Linked DNA regions of Homo sapiens: region 2 is linked to region 1. Evidence: promoter capture Hi-C in 16 types of primary human blood cells and fetal thymus (Javierre and others, 2016). All regions are on one chromosome and are shown on one strand. The core of a region is centred on a gene start or on the middle of the fragment in contact, and the rest is flanking DNA. Distances in the headings are between cores, read along the strand shown. Region 1 holds the start of LYRM9 (LYR motif containing 9). Region 2 overlaps NLK (nemo like kinase).

What was found. The method cuts DNA at HindIII sites, captures the fragments that hold promoters and counts their contacts. A CHiCAGO score of 5 or more calls a contact.
Region 2: a contact is called between a fragment that was not itself captured here and the fragment with the promoter of LYRM9 in region 1, in 6 of 17 cell types (M2 macrophages, megakaryocytes, M1 macrophages and 3 more). The highest score is 11.4, in M2 macrophages.

The regions. Positions count from the first base shown.
Region 1 is chr17:27,891,004-27,895,952 of GRCh38, reverse strand. LYRM9 (LYR motif containing 9) reads left to right here and starts at 2,588. Exons shown (of 4, transcript NM_001076680.3): 1 at 2,588-2,636. RefSeq lists a silencer at 2,407-2,956. The HindIII fragment of the contact is 2,313 bases long and covers 1,356-3,668 here.
Region 2 is chr17:28,162,314-28,167,262 of GRCh38, reverse strand. It overlaps NLK (nemo like kinase), which reads right to left. Exons shown (of 11, transcript NM_016231.5): 5 at 3,635-3,720. Among named protein-coding and RNA genes, the nearest start is that of NLK, 120 kb to the right of the region's middle. The HindIII fragment of the contact is 2,401 bases long and covers 1,580-3,980 here.

The DNA.
Region 1 (4,949 bases), core at 1,339-3,838:
TCCCTTTCTTTTGCCCAGCAATTAAAGAAAAACAAACTAGATGTCTGAGATTTCACATAACCTTTCATACCCAATATTTTTATTGTCTTAAATCTTGAGTAGTCAGCAAGAGTTGTGTTTTGCAATACGCTGGGGTAAGGAAAATCTGTTCACCCCATTTTCCATTTTCGCCCCTGGTGTCCTCTTCTGGCATATTCACCCATCACCCCATGGCCCTCACCCTGTGTTCTGGCAGGATTTGAGACATGCAAATTGCAAGCTGGTAAATAGCAGCTTTGCATATTTTGAATAGAAGAGAACAACGTGGTACCACTCATTCTGTTCTCAGGGAAATCTGAGATAATAGGGAGCAAGATCGAGGGCAGACCGAGGGTCTTAAGTATTTTCTTAAAAGTGTTTATTATGCTTATTAAACCTATTGTACACTGATGAATTAATTTGAATTATTTACATGGTCACCCTTGGAGACAATAACCTGATTTAATCAGAGGATGCAAACGTTATCATTTCTCTTTGAAATCTAAAAACAGGTTTAAACTGGAAACGTCAGGACTTCTTGTATCTTTCCCTACAAATACTGGTTACAAATCTGCAGTTGTCAGGCTAAATGACATAATGTCAGAAATCAAGAGAATGTGGTGTATTTCTTAGGAAAGTCAATAAACTCCCCTGTGCGAACATGTCCCCTGGACAGTGGGTGACTAATTTCTCAAGTAAAAGGTCTTTCTATTTTGTTTATCTGTAAATATCATGCACTGTCTGACATAAGGGGGTTCATCTGCTAAAATTTCAGTGTATAGGAAAATGACATGGTAAAAATGGTTGGGGTTTTATCAGATTATGAGACTGGTGTCATTTTAAGTGAATGTTTGGACTAGTAAAAATTATTTCATTTTACTATTGAAGCTGTAAGAACCTAAGGTTGCTGTCAAGTTGAAAGGTTCAAATTCAATTATTTTCAAATCTAGGTTTCCATTGTGACTTGGAAAAAAAATTAGAGATTATTGTTCAAATCTCTCCTACTTTGGATTTTTTTTTCTTAGTATTTGGATGTTTATAAGAAATTGTTGTGAAAGTTAAAATCTTGTGCGTTTGTAAAATTGGAAGAGGCACAAGTGATTCTGAAGGTGGAGCCTTTCAGAGGTAAAGCAAACAGCTTGCATCTTCAATATTTTATGAGATCTAGGTATTAGAACCATGTTTCTGATGCAGGAATACAGCTATCTAGGAACAAAAGGGAGATGAGACTACAGAACAGACTGTGAAATTTCTTAAAATTATTAAATGATCCTAAGACTGAGCACAGGAGTGGATGATGTTACTGCAGATTGTTCTTAATAAGGGCTTTAAAAGCTTAATGATTTATTGATTGGCTCTGCATTAATGACGTGCCCTTGATTATGCATGTGTAAATAAGAGGGCTGATTTATGAGGGTACAATTGTATCTTTCAGATATATTTGTCCAAGTCTACATCTTTAAAATAAATGGAAGCAATTATCTGAATATTTCAAGGGAGGGAACCCCACCTTCCCATCCCCCACCCCCGATTTGAGGGAAGTCTAGTATGTTAGGTGAAGAGAAAAAAAAAGAAAAGAGGAAGCTCTAAAGGGAGTTAGGAACAAAACAAAACTTCCGTTAAGAAATATCCCTGCTTCTCTTATCCTAAGAGAAGAAAAACAGATTCCCAGGTGCCACCGGGGAGCAATGTTTTACTTAAAAAAAAAAAAAGAAAAAGGAAAAAGAAAAACCTGTAAGAAGTTGTCCTGTTAAATCAACGACACATGGAGTCTGAAGGAAATCAGCCTTTTCGTTACAAACAGGTTTAAAAAGCCCTGGAGAAGAGAGACGTGAACAGAAGCAATATTATCCACTAACAACCTAACTCCCGCTTAGACATCAGCTGAGAGATCAGCAGCATCATTGAACAGGGGGGTTTGTCTTAAGATAATGACTCATCTTGATTTCTTTCAGGATATAAAACTTGTATTTAAATCAATTCAGAGAAGCACTTGAGCTTTAAACATTAGAGAGCAGGGAGAGCCTATTTAATAAACAGCATTATTTCATTTTCAAAGAATGATACTGGCAGTAGCTCTAAGTTTAAATTTTGTATTATTTTCCTCAATTATAATTATAGATGGGTCTGAAAGGAAGCATGCTTATTACTGTCATATTTATTCTTTTGACAGGTGTTATGGGACTGTAATTTGGTGAAATGATTCAAAACGCAGATTCCTATCCAAACACAATTCTTGTCATCAACACGAGAGGTTCAGGAAAAGTCCTCCAGCAAGCCTTTCAGAGATCTTGAACACCCCATATTCATAGCACAATCCATATTCAGGAATAAGGAGGAGAGAGTGCCTTTAGGGCTTATATCCGGCGTAGCAACAGCCAGAAGGCAGAGTGGGTGTTTGAGGTAACAGGTAACGAAGGCTGTTAGTGGGGACAGCTTTCAACTGGGTGGGGTCGGATCTAGGAAGAGGCACCCAGTAGGACCCCGAGTCCCGCGCGCGGCCGGCAGAGGGCGCTGGGCTCACCGTCGCCGGGCAGGGGCGGTGCCGCTCAGTCCCCGGGGCGCAGGCGCACTCGTCGCCGCGGCGGCGTCCGGGGCTGGCGTTCCCCTGGAGGCTGGTGAGCCGCGCTGCGCAGGCCGAGGCCGAGGGCGGGGGCGCGGGGGCAGCGGCGGCCGGAGCCACTGGGTGGCGGGGGCGGGCTAGGGATGTGGAGGCCTCGGGTGTCCTCGGATCTATTGAAGACCTAGGGGCGACCCGCGCCGGCACCTTTTCCCTTGCGGTCTGCGCTCTTCCACCGGAGAGCTGAGTGCACCGGAGCGCGGCGCCCGGGCTTGACGCAGGCCTGGCCGGGCGGCCTCGGAGGAGCAGGAAAGGCCTGCAGCGCGAGCTAGGGGCGCGAGGTCCGGGGCAGCCCGGAGGCCAGCCTCTCAGAGGCTCACGGGCCTGGCCACTTTTAAAAGGAGAATGTCCCCTCCACCGTCCCTCTGCCCGCGGCACCCGGTGGCCGGAGCAACCTTGTCGTGATGATTTATGCTTCTGCGTAAGAGCAAGTTGCTCCGTGGCCAAAACCCTTTCGCTCCTAGGATTGATCCTTTTTGTGGTTATTGTTTTAAAAAGTTTTATTGAGATATAATTCACGAAGCATACAGTTCACCCATCTAAAGTGCACAATTCAGTGTCTTTTAGTGTGTTTGCAGAGTTGTGCAGCTGTCACCATAATGTTTTAGAACATTACCCCCCAAAAGAAACACCTCCTTTAGCTGTCACTCCCCCCTCCCATCTACTCCCATTCTCCCAGCCCTAGGCAACCACCAATGTACTTCTGTCTCTGTACTTTTGCCTATTCTGGATGTTTCGTATAAATGGAATCATACATTAAGTAGCCCCTTGTGACTGGGTTTGTTCACTTAGCGTAATGTTTTCTGGGTTCACCTGCCATAGGTTCTTGACTTCAGGACAGTTTCCTGCTGGCTTTAGTTTCCTCTGGTAACTTGGGAATCAATTGACATCTATGGAACTTCTGTTATGGTTCAGGTACTATAAACTGTGGAGGAGTGACTAATAACCGTATATATATTTTTCTTACTAATTTCCCTTCATTTCACAGGTGTTGAACTAATACAGTATAGTTTCTTGTTCTTCAGAAGCTTACAGTCAGCAAGGAACAGAAAGCCAAATAAAGTAGGAAAGGGTAAGATGTTCAACGCTGGGCGCAGTGGCTCATGCCCATAATCTCAGCACCGTAGGAGGCTGAGGAAAGAGGATCACTTGAGCCTAGAATTTTGAGACCAGCCTGGGCAACATAGTAAGACTTCGTTTCTATAAATAATTAAAAAAATTAGCCAGACGTGGTGGCGTGTGCCTGTGATCCCGGCCACTTGAGAGGCTGAGGTAGAATCGTTTGAGCCCGGGCAGTTGTGACTGCAGTGATCCCTGATCATGCTACTGTACTCCAGCCTGGGTGACAGAGTGAGACCCTGTCTCAGGACAAAAAAAAAAAAAAAAAGATGTTCAAGCACTTAAGATGTGCCAGCCCCTGTGCTAGGCACTTTCCATAAGTTAGCTAGGTTGGTCTTTACAAAACCCCTGTGAGGTGGGTTATTCTTTTCTCCAGTTTACAGTGGGGGAAGCAGAAGTCCAGAGAAGTCAACCAGGTTGGCCAGGATTACACAGCTAGTAGATAGCAGAGGTAGGCTTTTAAACTAGGGTTCTTTGTCTCCAAAACCTGCTCTAAGTTCTGTCACATCGATTATAATCACAATAAGTGATTACAGAGCAGTGTGATGACTGTAATAGGGGTGTGAACAGCATGGGATGAAAGCCTGAAGGAGGTGACAGGGAACTGGATCTCTAAGGATGAAGGGGAATTCTTGAGGCAGGTGAAGAAGTCAAGGTAGGGGAAAGCACAGCATGTTTCAGAGATGGTATTAACAATAACAGTTAGTAGGAAACATGTAGTGTGTGCCAGGCATCATGCTTAGTAGTCTAGGAGCGTTATTTCATCCTTACAACAGTCCTATGTAGGAAATACTATTTATTAGGGACCGCATTGACAGATGGGGAACAGACTTCGAGATAGAAGTTAAGAAACTCGTCCAGGGTCCTAGAACTAGCAGGTGATAGAACCAGGATTTGAACCCAGACTGTCTGATCCCAGAGTCCTCCAAGTTCAGTCTGTGGCTAAAATGCAGGAAGTGTGGGAAGGACAGCAGGAGGGGAGACTGATGAGAGGGATTGAAACAGATCTCAGAAGGCCATGGGTAGAGAACTCTCTACAGAGGTTCTGAGGAAGGGGAGTGACAGGGTGTGCTTTTTAGGAAGTGTTCTTGGGTGGCACCATGTGGATTGGGCTGGAAGGAGGGAGACAGATCAGGAGGTATTCGGATAGTCCCAGCCAGGTATGGGTACAAAGCTGGGAACCAAGGTAATG
Region 2 (4,949 bases), core at 1,531-4,030, 270 kb before region 1:
TGAGACCCTATCTTTAAAAAAAATTTAAAAACCCCCACAAAACCAATTACTTTCAAGACTAGTTTAGAGAGGAAGATATCATAAGATAAAGGGGTGTATCTTGAAGGTCTCCTTAGCTGAGACTGTGTCTGTCGTCTTTATGAAATATATGTGAATTTCTTTAAAGCAATGGGTTTCAAACTGACTCCAGTTGAATCTACTTCTGACTTTAGGCATTCCATGAATATTATATCCAAACTTCACATGTACCTATCTATTTAAAATACAAATTCATACTCAAATGTATAAATATGTTAAAATGCAGTATATGGTAGAATACTAATGCTATGGGGTTCATTCATTTCTTCATGCCATAAATATTTAAGTTAGTACTTGTTATATTACAGACTGTATGTTAGAATCTGGAGATACAGCAATAAATAATAAAGACAGGTTAACTTCTATACAAACTTAGAAATAAATCTTTTCTTGCTATTTCTGCTCAACTGAAAAGTATGCTGAGGGTTACAAGGTGAGCTATTAATAAACAGCAGCCGTGCCACCACCAGCAACTACTACTTATCTTTAGGAATTAAAATTTTCTTGATATTGGGCAATCAAAACACAACTAGGAGCACTGAGGATGAGATCAGATAGTAATGGCCATCTAAGCTCCAGTGTTCTCACTGATTAACTTTACAAGTCACAATATTGCAAGTGATAAAATATGATTTTAAATCTGTTTTCTAAATTGAAGTCCCCAAATAAGATTTTATTTGAAAAAGAGTTCCGGCAGCTTAAAAAGAAAATCTGAAAACCCCGTTCTAAAGAAAACAAAATTTATCCCCCAATTTTTGGCAATCCCCTCTTTCTGATTTGAATCTACTATGTCTGGTTACATCAAATGAATTCAGATGTGTATGTGGGAATGAATCAGTATGAAGCCACCATCTTTACAACTTAAGAAAGCAGGAAAATTTTCCATACTATACAGATAAACCATATAACATAACAACAAAAGCCCGAGTTCATCAAATATGTTCAAATAACATATATATATATATATTTTTTGAGACAGTCTCACTCTGTCACCCAGACTGAAGTGCACTGACATGATGTCGGCTCACTGCAACGTCTGCCTCTCAGGTTCAAGTGATTCTCGTGTCTCTGCCTCCTGAGCAGCTGGGACTAGTGGCATGCGCCACCACGCCTGGCTAATTTTTGTATTTTTAGTAGAGACAGGGTTTTGCCATGTTGGCCAGGCTGGTCTCAAGTTCCTGGCCTCAAGTGATCTGCCCACCTCAGCCTCCCAGTGCTGGGATTACAGGCGTGAGCCACTGCGCCCGGCCAAAATAACATATAATATTTTAAAAACTCTATTACTTGGCCATGACTCTTGAGGATATTTTTAAAAACCAAACCAACAAAAGGAAAGAACATAATTTTTTTCTCATATTTATATGAGAAAAACCAACCAACCACCCATCCAACAAAAAAAGGCCTTCTGTTATAAAGCAAATCCCTTATTAAAAACATCAGTATGATTTCGTCATTTTTAGCAACTTATTTGGAAGACAACCTGAGTCCAAAATAGGAAGCTTACATGATCAGATAACTAAAAAAATTCCAGCAAAATTATCCATCTTGTGCTTAATAGGAAACAAAATACATTCACGATATGGAAGGATACTGATTTTTAAAAAATGTTTTGTTATAATGATCTTCAATGAATTTGTATGTTTGAGAAGAAAGAACTAGTGTCTATAGCCTAGACTCTATTCTGGCTTTTTAAAAGTAGGCCCATAAGATGAGTCAAAGGAGTGGAGCAAAATTTGTTTGTTCTGATTTGTGTGTTGTGTATTCACAAATGGCATTTTCCTTTAGTTGCCCATTCATACAGTCCAAGGTTATAAAACCATAACGGACAATTTGGAAAATGAACTTCAAGCAGTTAATGGCATCAAACATGACAGGTCCTGCACAAAATCCTGTGTGAAGTCTTCCAATCAAAAACCAAAATAAGAAGAAATTGGCTTAAACTGTCGTAAGATTGATTAGGTATGAATAGGACAAAAAAATTTCTAACTATAAGGTTTAAATTTTTTTTTTAATTAAAAAACGATTATGGGGATAGGTTGCAAGTTCTCTTTAAAAAGTGAAAAGGTGGCAGGAAAAACTCAATAACCTATAGAAGGAATACTTTAGTAGATTTTGGTGGCAATTAACTTCTCTGTGGAAACAAAAGACTGAATTACAACATCAGCTATTTTTAGGGAAAATATGAAAAATAGGTTTTCATCTTTCTTGAGTTAAAATAAGGGTGAGGGTTCTTCAAGGCTATAATGAAGGGAGAATTTTCATTCATAAGCAGTATAATCCACCAGCTTTTCAAGAGAACTGACCTACAGTTCAGAGAAATCATTTAAAATAAAAAATGAATTTTATTTATACACTTGGTTTTATTACTTAGTTTAACCGCCAGCAACCTAAGTAATAATGATAGTCTTGATTACTTTTAAAGTGGGTAACATTTTAAAAATTTATTTTTCTTTTCAAATATAGCAGTTAAAGGCCCTTATTTCCAATTTCTATTATGAGGAAAAATATAGTGGACCTCTCTCTATTCAAGAGTTCTGCCAATACACATCTGTATTAGAGGTAGGGAAATACAAATATGTGGACTTTGCTATTTGCAAGCCCCTTTTTAAATGAAAGACAATGGCTGTACTAGGGAAGAGAAGTAAAACTGAAACTGATGACTTGAAATTTTGGAACTACTAAATATAATTCTGTAATCAATTCCTCTTCAGAGGAATAATTAAGAATTGGCTACTATACATTATGGAAATACATTGGATAGATGCATATTACCCTTTTCTGGTTTGGCATTTTCACTTTTTTTTTTTTTTTTTTTGAGACAGGGTCTCACTCTGTCACCTAGGTGGAAGTGCAGTGGTGTGATCACAGCTCACTGCAGCCTTCACGCTCTGGGCTCAGGTGATCCTCCCATCTCAGCCTTCTGAGTAGCTGGAACTACAGGCATGTGCAACCACACCTAGCTAATTTTTGAATTTTTTATTGAGATGGGGTTTTGCTGCATTGCCCAGGCTGGTCTTGAACTCCTGGGCTCAAGCAATCTGCCCGCCTCAGCCTCCCAAAATGCTGGAATTACAGGCATGAGCCACCGTGTCTGGCCAGCACTATCCCTTTTAAATATGTTTCTACTTCTTACTTTGCTACCTTGGTCAAACAGCATATAGATATGTTAGCTGTGTAAAAATGTAAATGGTCTTCCTAAAAGTCACACTTCATTCTCTTATATAAACAGATGCTTGCTGTTCTAATATTTCTTCTGATATGCACTTCTTTTAATAATGGAACAAGCTGTAAAGGAGTCACCTTGTCTATTCTTCTTTCTAGTTACACTACAATTCCAATTTCAGTGTTTCTAAAACATAGGCCAAATATCATGAAAAGAACATGAGGCAGGACTACAAATTATTACCATGGCTATGAGTAGTGATATGGAGAAAACTGGGTTAACTTTTGGTAAAGTAATGGAAATGAACTTCTTTCTTTCACAAAAATATGTTGTTCTTAAACCTGCCCTGACATTCTGATTTTTCCCAGGTATTTAAATAAACTGAAAAGCTACCTTTAGAACACAGTTGCTGTTCACAAGGAGATTCCCTGGCTTAATGTCTCGATGTAAAATGCCAGCTGAATGGAGATATTTCAAACCTGAAATAACAAACAGATTTAATTGCAGATATTTAATTCCTTTTACTCAACCAATAATTTAAAAAAAACCTTGGAAGAAAACAGTAGAGGATTTAAAATTGTTCCCTAAATAACTGCATAATGAACATTATTAAAAGCTAGTCCCACCTCAAAATACCGTAATTTTGCTACAGTAAAATAAAATGTCACCAAAGGTTTGCAAAGTCTAGAGATAATGTCTATAATTTAAACAATTATGTAGGTTTAAATACAGATAAGCTTCTTAGGCACTCGAGTTAAGACCATACTAATAACCTTAGATTGCTAGTCAGTGTGGCTATTGGACTGCTGCTATTGATACTCTTAACCTGCAACTCGGAGCCTGCTCCAACAAAACAGTTTCCATTACTACAGGGAGCCTTTCCCAGGACAGATGTTTCACTGATAGAACAAAATTCAGGAACTTGCCCACACTGTCAGTAGTATTCTTTACCGCTCAGAATCAAGAGGGTAATGAACCACTTTAAAAATATTTGTGAAATCTTAGAAGACCAGTGTCTTCATTCAGTACTGCTAAAGGTCCCAGCCTCAAGGTTGAGTCCTTTTTGTGTGCGTTTTTCTTTTTTTCTTTTCTTTTTTTTTTTTGAGACAGGGTCTCGCTCTGTAACCTAGGCAGGAGTGTGGTGGTATGATCACAGCTCACTGAAGCCTCGACCTTCCTGGCTCAAGCCATGCTCCCATCTCAGCCTCCTGAGAAGTGGGAACTACGGGCATGTACCACCATATCCGGCTAATGGGCTGAGTCTTTTTTGGATAAAATGTAGCAAATCACATTTTTCACAAGTACAAAAAGAGCCAATATCTTCCCCATTTTCCCCTACCATAGAATATGAACAAATCTTAGAGGTGAACGTTTTTGTTTTTTTTGAGACGGAGTCTCACTCTGTTGCCCAGGATGGAGTGCAGTGACGCGATCTTGGCTCCCTGCAGCCTCCACCTCCTGGGTTCACTCGATTCTCCTGCCTCAGCCTCCCAAGTAGCTGAGACTACAGGCGAGTGCCACCATGCCCAGCTAAGTTTTGTATTTTTTTAAAGTAGAGATGGAGTTTTGCCATGTTGGCCAGGCTGGTCTTGAATTCCTGACCTCAGATGATCTGCCCGCCTCAGCATCCCAAAGCGCTGGGATTACAGGCATGAATCACCATGCCTGGCCTGGAGGTGAGTTTTTTAGTTTTAATATTGCTTATGTG